Linked DNA regions of Homo sapiens: all the other regions are linked to region 3. Evidence: promoter capture Hi-C in 16 types of primary human blood cells and fetal thymus (Javierre and others, 2016). All regions are on one chromosome and are shown on one strand. The core of a region is centred on a gene start or on the middle of the fragment in contact, and the rest is flanking DNA. Distances in the headings are between cores, read along the strand shown.

The links. Contacts are between HindIII fragments. The CHiCAGO score rates a contact against its expected background, and 5 or more counts as called.
Region 1: a contact is called between a fragment that was not itself captured here and the fragment with the promoter of PRRG3 in region 3, in 3 of 17 cell types (M0 macrophages, M1 macrophages and M2 macrophages). The highest score is 7.4, in M0 macrophages.
Region 2: the fragment with the promoter of GPR50 here is called in contact with the fragment with the promoter of PRRG3 in region 3 in 7 of 17 cell types (M1 macrophages, M2 macrophages, naive CD8 T cells and 4 more); the score reaches 7.9 in M1 macrophages.

Annotation. Positions count from the first base shown.
Region 1 is chrX:151,129,350-151,133,217 of GRCh38, reverse strand. No RefSeq gene overlaps it. Among named protein-coding and RNA genes, the nearest start is that of MIR4330, 37 kb to the left of the region's middle. The HindIII fragment of the contact is 2,225 bases long and covers 973-3,197 here.
Region 2 is chrX:151,175,257-151,179,495 of GRCh38, reverse strand. GPR50 (G protein-coupled receptor 50) reads right to left here and starts at 2,912. Exons shown (of 2, transcript NM_004224.3): 1 at 2,588-2,912. The coding sequence starts at 2,774. GPR50-AS1 (GPR50 antisense RNA 1) reads left to right here and starts at 1,660. Exons shown (of 3, transcript NR_135300.1): 1 at 1,660-2,119; 2 at 2,621-2,701; 3 at 3,226-4,239. RefSeq lists an enhancer at 3,279-4,239. The HindIII fragment of the contact is 16,411 bases long and covers 1-4,239 here.
Region 3 is chrX:151,693,401-151,697,573 of GRCh38, reverse strand. PRRG3 (proline rich and Gla domain 3) reads right to left here and starts at 2,116. Exons shown (of 4, transcript NM_001372163.1): 1 at 2,030-2,116. The HindIII fragment of the contact is 4,373 bases long and covers 1,555-4,173 here.

The sequences.
Region 1 (3,868 bases), core at 836-3,335, 560 kb after region 3:
TGTCAGCTGTTCAACAACAGCAACAACATACAATACCACATTTTCAATCTCCACGTATGATGCTGTGTTTCCATTAAAATGGGTACTGTACACTGTATTTTATTTTTTAGGTGAGAAGAAATACCACAAGCAGTGGAGAAACCAGGAAGTAGGCCCTTTAGGGATGAGGAGGCATTCTGCTAGATGACTTTTTAAAGTGTTTCCTCCAGAGTAATTTGTCTCATTAACAACAGTTTTTCTCTTCTTGATTTTATAAACTGACATGATTTCTTATTTCTTATTTGTTATGAATGCATACTGCTCTAGTCCTCCAATAAGCCCATCATACATTTTCACCATATCATCTAAAGGCACTTTTTCTGCAGTGTTAATAATGTCATCTTCATCATTGCTATGATCATATCACCTTTATTCAGGATCATGTTGACTCTTCCACCACTGGTTAATGAATGAAAAACTGGATTGTTCATCATTACTGAGCATAATCACAGGCCAGAGGTTGTGCCAGGCATGCACGGCTGTGTCCTTAGTCACTGTTTTCCAAGCATTAGTAACAGTATATATGGTATCATTTATGCCCAACTCCTTTTAAAAACCTTCCACACCCATACCTTTCTTCATTGCTACTAGCATGCTGTTCGATAAAGTTTTTTTTTTAAATATTTACTCTTCAGTGAGTTAAGGATACCCCAGTCACATGGCTGAGTTAATAGAGTCACATTTGGGGGAAATACATGGTATAAACATTATTTTTAATGAGAATTTCAGCTGAGGAACGAGCAAAACAATTGTCAAGGAATAACTAAATCTTGCAATGGTCACCCAGTCCAGCTTCCCTGAAGTGAGCACAAGCTGCTGGTACAAATTGTGAAACCAATCAGAAAAGGCATCGCTAGCGATCCATGCCTTATTGTTAGCATAATAATGGACTTAAAAGAAATTCACTCCTTGAAAACAACAAAAATGCAAGCTTTTGCCTACCACAGTAAGCTGACAGTTATGTGTGCCTGTGGCATTAGCACATTCTAGCACAGTTATTCTGTCCTTGGCATCTTTAACTCCTGCAGGGGCTGTCTCCTCCTCTGTAGTCAGTGTATTTCTGGGGCAGTGGTTTGAAGTGCTGCAGGCAGTAACTACTGGAGACCAAATCACAGTGTTTTAATTTGTGACATGTTAGAGAGAATAATAGGACTTTCTGCAGTATTAGTAAACTGAAGCACTAATTTCTAAATGTTCTTTTTTTATGTCTTTAAATGTTTCATTAAACATTGGCTTCTGTTTTTAGCATAAATGCATATATTATACTCGATCATTTATATTGTAGATAGAAACTTATTTTACAGCAAAGTAGTCTGTCTGCATATTATGGGTAGAGTGCCCCTTTATTGTAATTTTATTTCTATATTGCTTTTAAAGCCTTTTGATGATCACTTTTGGTTAAATGAATAACTGTTATTTTACAATGACCTGTGATTCTGTTTTAATAAAACGTTTCAAGTCTTTTAATTTCTTTGATAAGCATCCTATTAACTAATCCTTGTGCTGTTAAGTTACAGGGTCTTGACTCCTGGGTCTGAAAAAGGTGCCGATACCTGCTAAATCTTGAACATTGACACCAGTCAAAGCCTCATCTTTAGACCCAGGAGAAGGCAGCAATCAAAATGAACTGCTTTCATGAGACACAGGGCCAGGAATTAAAACTATCCAATCCATCTAGGCCCAGGAACTATTGCAGAAGGGGGGCAGGCACATGAGATTGTAAGGGCCAATTTTGACAAATAAAATTAGTTATGTATGTTCTTTTGTGGTGGTTGTATGTGTCCTTATGTAACCTTCAAAAGATCTCACTGTTCTAGGCCGATGCTGAACATACAACTCAGCTTGGCGGGCAGGGGTGCAGGGAACTGGGCTTCCATTCTTAAATGGCAAAGGAAATTCCTTTGATTCATAAGCAATTCTGTAACCTTACTTTTTGGCTTTTAGTTTTTGGCTATTATGTTGCTTAAAGGGTTTTAAGTGTTAATGAGTGCCTGCCCCCCTCCATTCTTGTCTGGTCTACAGTGTTTAATTGGCTGTTAGTCTTTTGACTCTATGTCCCTTGGCTATAGAGGTCCCACTGAGGGATGAGATGGACCTAAAACATGTAGCCACACCACCTTGGCAACACTATGGGACAAAATAAATTCCTAAGCCCCCCATTGACTGAGTAGGCCCACTTGTGGCCAAGGGGACCCCAGTTGCCAAGAGATAAATCTTAACTGGGAAAAGGTCTTGTCCCTTGCCCTGCTGAGGATGTGGGTAGCCCCTAAAAGTGGATTGGCTTTTAGAGCCTCCAAAATGTATGGAAGACCATTTCTCTAACCTCCAGACTCCTTGACACTTTAGTATTTTTCCTCCTCTGACACAGAAGCTAGGTCATATATAAAACAATTAGGAAATATATTAACTAGTCTCTAAGTTTGCTTCCAACAGGCTTCAGTTCCCTAGAGATGTACCTCTCCACTTTTTGAAACTGGGAGATCCCAAGTCCTGCTGAAGACCTGGAAATCCCACCAAGCTGTAGATGAGCTGCAACCACAATGGGTCAGCCCTTTGGAGGTGCTGCTGATCACTCACTCATCTGTCAAGTTAGCTGGTGCTAAGTCGTGGATTCACTATACTCGGGTAAAACCAGTCCCTCTGGAATCTCTCCCAGGGAATCAGTCATGGTCTTGTGAACCCTCAGATGGCCTTAATATCTAAAGTCCAGTGAAAGACCCTAGTTAAAAAATCATAAAGGGAACATGTAGCTTTCGCGATTATTTTATTGGATTCCCCAAGGGATCCACTCCATATCCTTTGGTGTTTTAAAATTTAGGTTATCCATGTTATTAATCATCCTAGTCAATGTGACTTAAAATGTTGTTCTAAAACCATTAAAGTATCCAGGTCCTGGTGTTCCAACAAGTCAGATGCTGACCAGGTACTTATGAATACTTCCAATTACAGGGGTAACATTTTCATTCCTCATCAGTATCATATAATGCCCTTCCTCAGCATAAAGCAGTCAGAAAGATCAACCACCAGATTCCCCATGATTGAGGAACTGATAAGTAGAAATAGAGGACTGAAACCGGCCAATTGTCTCACAGAACTGGTGTTTACCGTCTTTTGGATAAACATAGAAATTTGAAATTGACCCTCTTGGTCTTAAAGCTTGAAATCTGCATTTGTCTTATCTGAGTTCCCTCCTCAGGAAACCAACCCTCAGGCCTCCCAGATAGTTCAAAGAATATAAATTCACCACATCACTACATCCAAACAATGAGATGCCAGACCCCTCATCCATCATGATTCCTGTTTACCAACTCTTCTTCCTTAACCCCTTCTTCCTGTTTTCCCATATGTAGTTACATTTTTTTCCCTGCTATATAAACCTCTAATTTTAGTCAATTGAGGAGATGAATTTGAGACTGACCTCCCATCTCCTCAGCTGCAGCACCTGAATAAATCCTTCTTCCCTGGCAATACTCAACTCAGTGATTGGCTTTCTCTGCAGCCAGCAACAGGACCTAGACCAAACCCCTGCTGTTTTGGTAACAAATTGCTGCAATCTCATGATAAAACTTAAATGGATGAGGCATTGCTTCTAATGGATGAGCAAAGAATGGTTTATTGAGATGGAAACTACTTCTGGTAAAGATGTTGTGAACATTGTTGAAATGACAACACAGGATTTAGAATATTACATAAACTTAGTTGATAAAGCAGCAGCAGAATTTGAAAGGATTTACTCCAATTTTGAAAAAAGTTTTACTGTGGTGGGTAAAATGCTATCAAGCAGCATTGCATGCTACAAAGAAACCTTGCATGAAAGGAAGAGTCCATT
Region 2 (4,239 bases), core at 1,663-4,162, 520 kb after region 3:
AGGTGAGGGGGAGGGAGAAGGAGGAGGGGAGTAGAGGTGAGCTAGAGGGACTTGTTTTTAGGAAGGAGGCTGGAGAGTGGGGGGCAAGGAGAGACACTGGAGGGATGTCAGGAAGCCTCAAACTAAAAAAATTAAAAATAATTAAATAATTAGAAAAAGATAAATTAGCCATCTCCCTCCTATAGCCTAGCATTGCATTTATAATAAACACATTACTAGAGAGAAGATTCTGAGAAAAGGCATTAGAGGCCATCTTCTTAAACAGTCTTTTCCGATGGGATCAAGCAGTAACCTAAAACCTTGCCAAGTCAAATACTTACCGTTCCGAGGTAACCTAAGAGTGAAAACTGAGGGGAAGCAGGGAAGCCCTGTAAAATTTAGTCTGAGACCAAAGAAGTAGTGAGAGGGCGGGCGGGAAGGGTGGCGCGAGGTGGGCGGGGGTGGGGGGGAGGAGAAAAAATCCTGCAAGGATTAGCAGAAGTGCCTGTTTCAGTTACATGCCGCGTCCACGTCCACGCGCAGAGCCGCGCACTGGCACATTCAGCGCCCTGCACAGAGCTCCCAGCGCCGGGCACTGAACTTTACTGGAGCCTTCAGGTTAAACAGGATAGAGAAGAAGGGTCACCCCCACTCCGGTCTTGTAGGGCTGAGGTGGGAACTTTTTTGTAAAACCTTTCACAAAAAAGAGAAGGAAGAGGCCAGGTGCAGGCGCAGAGCCCTCTTTCTTTGGAGACACCTCGTTGCTAATTAGCATTGGTTTGGCAAAATATTGCACTTCATCTTGGACTAGGAGAAAATGAGCGCTTTTGAAAAGGGCAAAGGTATGGCTCCTTCTTCCTCCTTCCTCCAGCGCTGTCAGCACTCGGCCTCAGCACTTTCTACCGAAGAGGTTCTTTCTATGGTTTTCCGGCAGAGTAATGAATTCAGGGAAATACAGCCGAAAAGAGAAGGGGCAAAGCCTTAAAAACAAAACCACAACAACCATAAAAGCCTTTATTTGAATTATAGAAGGAAGGAAGGAGAAGGAGAAAAAGAAAGAAAAGAAATCTAAAGGGAATAAAATGGGCTTCGCAGGTCGCCCCCAGGATTCCGTGGGTTTGCACCTCGGGACCGCACCGCGGGGGTGAAGGTGAAGACCTAGTGTATGGCCCCACGATTCCAGGAGACGAAGGAGAAATCGGAGACACCCACCAGACTTTGTAAGAAAACTTTTAATGACTGTGTGCCAGTCAGTGCGTTTTTAAACTTGTTCAGTGTTCGTGACTCCTTGCCCAAGCAAAGTAATCCCCCAGACCCCGGCCGCCACCTCTCCCCCACGCCCTGCCCGGGAGAATCCAGCTGGTCTCCCCACCCTCTCAGACCCCCTTCGGTCCCCACTCCTAGCCCCAGCCGATCGAGAATCTGGCGGTGGAAATTCCAGGCGCCGCCCCTCCCTCCCCCGGCCTGAACTCGGAGTTTGGGCGCCTTTGCCCCTTCCCCTCCCTTCCAGAGCCCTCTCCCGCCCAACCTGTAAGCCGGACTAGCTGCTCTGCAGTGTCTGCCGCCCCCACCCCCAGCACAGGTCGCAGCGCCCGGCATCCTCCCACGCTTCCCTCCTGCCCTGCTCGCCGCCGGCCCCCGGCCCCCGGCCTCCTCCCGCTCGGCAGTGGCTAGCAGCGGGGGAAGTCCCGCCTGCGGCTCCCAGACCCCAGCCCTTTGCAGCCTCTCTGAGTCCCCCATCGCCGCCTCTGAGCTCTCCCGTCGCCCTCCCGCCAATCCCTACTCGGTTTTGCTGCCTTCTATCCCTCCACCCCCAGCAACGCCCAGCTCCCAAGCCTCTTGGCCGGCCCGCCCTGCGACCCCCCAGTTCCCCGCTTACGGACCTTGGGATCTCCGCTGCCGCCGCCGTCGCTGCCACCGCCTGCTGTGCCCGACCCGCCGCTTGCCTCTCTCTGCCGTTCGCCCTGGGACGGGCGGACGGAGCTCGGCTCCGGCGGGCTCAGACCTCCCTGCTCGATTCTCGGGCGCGGGGGTCTGTGCTCCGCCGCCCGGGATCTGCCCGGGAGCCGTCCTGGAGCCCCAGGGCCGCGGCGAGCGGGCTCTTGGCCCGGCTAGGGAGAGGCCACTGCGTTGCGCTCTGGTAAGGGCCGCCGCGGCCGCCGCGAACTTAACTTTCACAGAGCAGGTCGCAGCCCCGCTGCTCCCTCCGCGTCAGTTCGGTCCGCGCTGCCTCAGCGCGGCCGCCCTTGCGGCGTCCGGCTCGGCTTGCTGTCCCCGGGCGAATCGCCTGACTCTCCCGCTCGGGTGCCGGCTCCCTCCGCATCAGGCCCCGACGGGACAGGGATCCTCGGGCTGCCGCGCACCACGGGAACGCTTTGTACTTGGATGCCCAAAGCTAATTCTCTGTGCTCTCTCGGCCTTGAGAACCTCCACGTTTAGAGGGCCGGGACAGAATACTACCACCCCCAGGCTTGCGGGGAATTTGGGAGCAGGGATGTTCAATATGAGGGCACTGTCCATAGATTCTCTATTCGGGGAGCTCAAAAACTAACGCCCTAGGGGTTGCAAGTCTCTGCACACTGGGTAGGGAGAAGAAGGGGTGGCTTACCAGAATTCCGGAGCTTCTTGTTCTTCGTCACAGCCAAAATGACCATGGAGTTGCCGATTAGGTCTACAACGATGGTGATAACCATCGCGCAGAACATAAAGATGATTAGAGCCGGTGGGTATTCTGGCTGGGGTAGCTTACAGCCAATACAGCCATAGGGGGTGGGAACCGCTAGGGTGGGCCCCATGTTGCTCCTGGGGATCGTTAAGATCTCCCAGCAGGCTCAGGATCAGCAGCCAGGTCCAGACAGCAAACACCTGTTCTGTCACCAGGAGCTCCAGGAAAGCGTGCCTCCCTCTCTGAGAGTCAGAGAGCAAATGACAGCATCCCGCCCCTCTCCGATGAGCTTTTAAAGCCTCAAGAGGCGGCTAGCCCCACCCCAAATCCCTCCCCCCGACCAATCAGACCTCCCTGAATACCCCCCCCTTGGCTACCCCCTCTTATTGGACAAATCCACATTGAGGTGTCATCTTGCTTCCGACTGCCTTGTATGTACTTCCTCTCTAGCCAGCCTGCCCTGCCTCTCAATCTCCCAGGTACCTTGCAAGCATCATGACTAGCTCGGAGTCCACCCCACACCCCCTCCACCAGCCCCTGTGCATTCGTTTCTAGCAAGTTCTTCTCCCTCTCTCCTCCAGTGCAAACACCTGGCAAAGAGATGTAGATTGCAGAGCCGGAGCACAGAGTCTTTCATAGGATCCAGTGCTAGACCAAGCCAGTCCACAGCCCCCAGCAGGGTATAGGGGATAGCCGGTGGCCCCTTGAACGCTAGATGCTTGCCTCTGCAAGTATCCTTGTGAGGTCCATCCCACGCCCCATGCCCTTGCCTGTCTAGAGCCTTCTGTGTCCCGCGGGGAACAGGGGACTACTGCTGGGAGCTCCCACCCCCAATCTGGGTCCCTAATCCCTAGGGAACTTAACCCCGCTCCCTTTCTCGCCAGGAGCCTCTTGGCTCCCTTAGCGGCAGCTGCGAGTAGCCGCTCAGTCCGGTCCAGGTCTTGCACTCTCCATAAAGAGATGTACCCTGCGCCCGACTCTGGAAGTGGGGAGCGGGTCTGCACCCTGGGACCTAGGGAAGGCATTGGTGGCCACTCGGTCCTCAGTTTGGGGGCGAACGGGAGCGGGAGCTCGTCTCCTTTCCAGCTGCCGGCAGCCAGGCGGCGGAAGCCAAGGGACGCTTTGGGAAAAAGTAAAACAGGCAATAAAGCTCTTCTCTTGGGTCCCCGCTTCTCAAGGAAACTCAGGACGAGAGGCTCTGACGCCTCTCCCTCTCGGGATGCTCGGCATTCTCTACTGAGCGGCACGGGGCAGTCAGGAAGGCTGAAGGAGCTGCGCCGCAGCCGCGGGAAAGGTGCGGAGGTGTCACGCGGCTAAACCAAGAAGCCTCTGGCTGACCGGCGATCCCTGCCTCAGTCAGGATTCCTCTCGGTCTTTCTCCTTTCCCATGCCCTTCTGGGGTTCTCGTTTCGACCCCATCCCTCTCAGGCCTCCCCCCTCGCCCTCCACACCGCGGATCTCTGTCCCCGTGCGTCACAGTTCCCCTGCGGTGCGCCCAGGATCTCGCTCCGCGGGGACCACGGAAAATTCGAATATTCGGGCAAAACTAAAGGGGCGTGATTCGGACACTCGTTCCCTCAATAACCTTGGTCACG
Region 3 (4,173 bases), core at 867-3,366:
CTGCGATGTGGTATACAGCTTTCTATTTATGTTTCCAGTGTCCTATTGTGCATTTATAATATGCCACCTAATCCTTTTGGCAAACAGGTAGGATATAAATCAATAATTTAGGCTGGTCGCGGTGGCTCATGCCTATAATCCCAACACTTTGGGAGGCTGAGGCGGGCGGATCACCTCAGGTCAGGAGTTTGGGACTGGCTTGACCAAAAAATGGTGAAACCCCATCTCTACTACAAATACAAAAATTAGTTAGGCATGCTGCGGTGCATGCCTGTAGTCCCAGCTACTCTGGAGGCTGAGACAGGGGAATCGCTTGAACCAGAGAGGCGGAGATTGAAGTGAGCTGAGATTGCGCCACTGCACTCCAGCCTGGGTTACAAAGCCAGAAAGAAAGAAAGAGAGAAAGAGAGAAAGAGAGGGAGAGAGGGAGAGAGGGAGGGAGAGAGGGAGGGAGGGAGGAAGGAAGGGAGGGAGGGAGGAAGGAAGGAAGGAAGGAGAAGGGAAGGGAAGGAGGAAGGAAAGAAGGAGAAGGGAAGGGGAGGGAGGAAGGAAGGAAGAAAGAAAGAAAGAGAGAAAGAAAGAGAGAAAGAGAGAAAAGAAAGAAAAGAAAATTAAAGGTAAAACAGCAGATCTGACATCTATTTGTGGAAACGCCACATCAAGGGGCTTTCTCTTTTGAACCCTGCAACAATCTCCCTCAAAACTATCAACATGTGAATTTGTCAACAGATGGCCTGCCTTGTGAGACAGTTGGCCCTCAATGTTTGTCAGAACCAAGATGGAATATGATCTCAAAATTCTGCTTGCATTATGGATACCTGAGCTTTATGTGGTGAGGGTGTGGATATAGTATGCCTCATGGCAAGGATTTTTTGCTTGAAGAAAAATGGAGCTGTTGTATCTGGGTTTGAGAAGAATGCATATAGTCTTAATAAGGGAAGAGAGAAAAATATGCTTATCAAAGGAAACTGCAGTGGTTTTTTAAAAAAATGGAGAAAAATTTACATAATAGATTACATATATCCATCTTTTGTCCCCCACACACCTAGCCTTGGTCAAAGGTGGCTATATGTCACACCTATCATAGACCCGAATACATGTTATCCTGACGCACCTGCTAAAGTCACCAGTTCATTTTTAAGCTTCAGTCGAGCCAGGAACACCCCCAAAACAGTTCCCATGGCATGGCCCACTCCATTAGCAATTCTGTAGCCACCTTCACTGCTGCTGCTGCCTGCCACGAGGCCTCTTCCCCCTCCCTCCCCAAAATGTAGCGCCTGCTTCTTCCCCTATAAATACACCATCAGTAGACAGTTACTATGGCAACAATAAGGAAGCAATCGTGAGGGCTCCACGACAAAGAATGATGCTGCAGCCACACATGTATATGTCCCCCATGCCCCTGGTGGATACTGTAAAGCTGACTGTAGGCGGAAGGAATTTTTAACCCACTCCCCGCAGGAACACAGCTGAATCCTGACAGCCTGGAAAGGAAGGAAGGCAGGGAACTGGCCACCACAAAGACCTTGCTTAACTCCACCCCAGACTGAAGCTTCTGAATCTCAGGCCTCTGGGACACAACTCCCAAAGTCCCTCACATGAAGCCTGGTGACCACCAGAGCACCTGGTGTCCCAAGACATGGCCTCCAAACCACTTCTCCAAACCCTAGACTTTATTTCCATCCCTCAGAACTGATCGCCAGGAAAGGGTTCTCCAAATCGCATGACTCATCGACCCACCCAGTGACACGACAACTCCCAAATTATGCTCAAACTCAAACTCTGGGGCCCCCTTGTCCCTTTCCACTCAGGCCAGCCCTGAAAGTGCCTGTCCTCGCCCACCTTCGCTGGACACCAGCGCCCTGACCCAGCAACACTCTTCTCCCGGAGCTGTTCAATACGCCCCATCCCCTTGGCCCGGACAGGCCTCTAGATCTTCCCTCCTCAACAATGCCCTGCACCCAGCTCGTTGGCCCTGGATACCGAACCGTGCCCTCGGGACTGGGACACCCAACCCAAATGGCCTCACCGTTCTCCGGGCCCAGAAGGCGGCCGCCCTGTTTGCGCACGCAGCCCGCCACCTCGCTGCTGCGCCTCTTCCAGCAGGGGCCCTGTCCCCGCCCACCTGCTCCCCGTCGGCCAAGCCCCCCGGTCCGGCCCAGCCGTCTCCTCCCTCCCTTCCTCCCCTCCCCGCTGCCCTCCCACCGCCCCGGGCACCCTGTCGCCCGCCCCTCCAGGGCCGAAGTGCGCCTGGAACCCCCGCCCCTCGCAGCCGGGCGCCCAGGCCCGGCCCATTACCTCGGCACCCCCCTGCCTGCCCCTGCTTTCCTCTGGGGGCTCCGCAGCTGCCCGCCCCCCACACCCCGCCGTTCCAGGGCTGGCCTCGCGCCCCGCGCCTCGCGCGCCACGACCGCAGTGCCCCGATCGCCAGGCCGCAATCGTCGCGCTGCCCCGCGCACCGGGCCGCCGGCCGCCTGGCCGAGTGGAGGAAGGAGGGGTGGGGGCGACGGAGTGGGCCGAGGGGGTTGGGAGAGCGGGCGGGCAAGCCGGGCCGGAGGGGCGGCGGCGCGCACCGAGCACCGCGCGCCCGCGCCCCACTCTGCCGGCGCCGCCCCTGCCCCCGCCCGTGCCGCCGGGGGGCGGGGCCTGACTGGCGGGCCTGGGGCACACAGAGGACCCTTGGTCAAAGCCCTGGTCCAGTCGTGACCCAAGGCGTGGGCCCTCGGAAGATACGGCGTAGCAGGGAGCTCCGGCGGCCGCTCCCAAGGCCCGCGCGCCAGGCGTCCCTGCGCAGCCCAACCCGCGTCCTGTCCCCACCCCCCGGGCTCACCTGCCATTCAGGCCCGCCGGGCTCCTGGGGCCAACGAAAAGAGAGGGGGGCTAGCCTGCAACCTAGGCCTGCCTTGCCAGGGATCCACAGGGCCCTCAGAAGAAGGACCGAGTCGAGGCCGCGTTCCGCCAATGACTGGGTGACCTTGGCTTCTTCACTTACCTACCCCCACCCTGCCCCGGGAAGGCAGGCTTCTCTCCTGCAAAGTCCGAGAAATGGGGAGAATTCTGCCTCCCTCGCGAGGCTGCAGCGATTTGAAGGAGGAAATGGGTTTGGAAAACTCTAAGGCTCAGTAAGGGGAGAAGGAATCTTCTGCGACTGCAAGGAGCGCTAGATGGGGGCTCCTTCGGAGGCCGCACTGTGAGAAGTTCAGCATGGCAGGACAAGACGCATAGCAGAGATTACACTAGTCCAGGAGGAACCACATGACAGGTCCACTGCTAAGAGAGGGGCAAAGGGGTTCCGGGTGGGCTGAGGTTCTGGGTCTAGGAAAGCCTCCCTCGGAGAAGGGGATGCTGGGTTTTTAGGGTTCCTTTTTGTTCTCTGCACATCTAGAACCCGGCCAGGCACTGGGGTTGGCGTCCTCTTCCTCCCTCCACCCCAAGTGTTGCTTTTGATGGGAATGAGTCTCAGAAGGCGGTTCCAGAACCACTCCCACCCCTATCCCAGGGCGGGTATTAGCAACCTGCCTTGCCAGGGGGCGGAAGAGGGGTGGGCGAAGGCCTTCATTGCCACCGGCCGCCTCCCCTCCAACCCCCAGGGCCTGGCTCCCCTAGCTCCCCCGATGCCTGCCTCTACACTTCTCTCCCCGCATGGTGCTTTCCCTTCCATTTCTGCCTCCTGTTAGAGTTCTTCCCTAGCTTGCTTGCTATTTCACGGCTGCAGGAATCTTCCTTACCCACGACAGCTCTTCTATGGCCTTCCCCCCATGCCTCCGGAGCCTGTGGGGCAGAATTCCACAGACTCTTCTGGAACTAACCTCTTGAGTTTCCTAGCCCACCAGCATGTTCCCATCGTGATCTTAACACCGCATAGACCCTTGTGCACTTGACTGTTAAAAAAGCAGCTCTTCCAGTATGTGCACAAGGGTCTATGGCTTCTGCCCTCCTTCTGGCACTCCCACTTTAGCTTCTGGCTCCAGCCACATGAGGCTACTTCTACTTCCCACTGCCCAGAATGCCTTTCCTCCCACTGTGGACCTGGAGCACTTGCATTCATTCTTCCCACACAGTGCGCATGACATCTCTACTGTGAGGTCTTGCAGGATCCTTCCTGCACCCCAGTCCGCCATTCCACTCTCAGGACTATCTGCAGAGACTATGAACATGGGGGCCTCGGTGGAT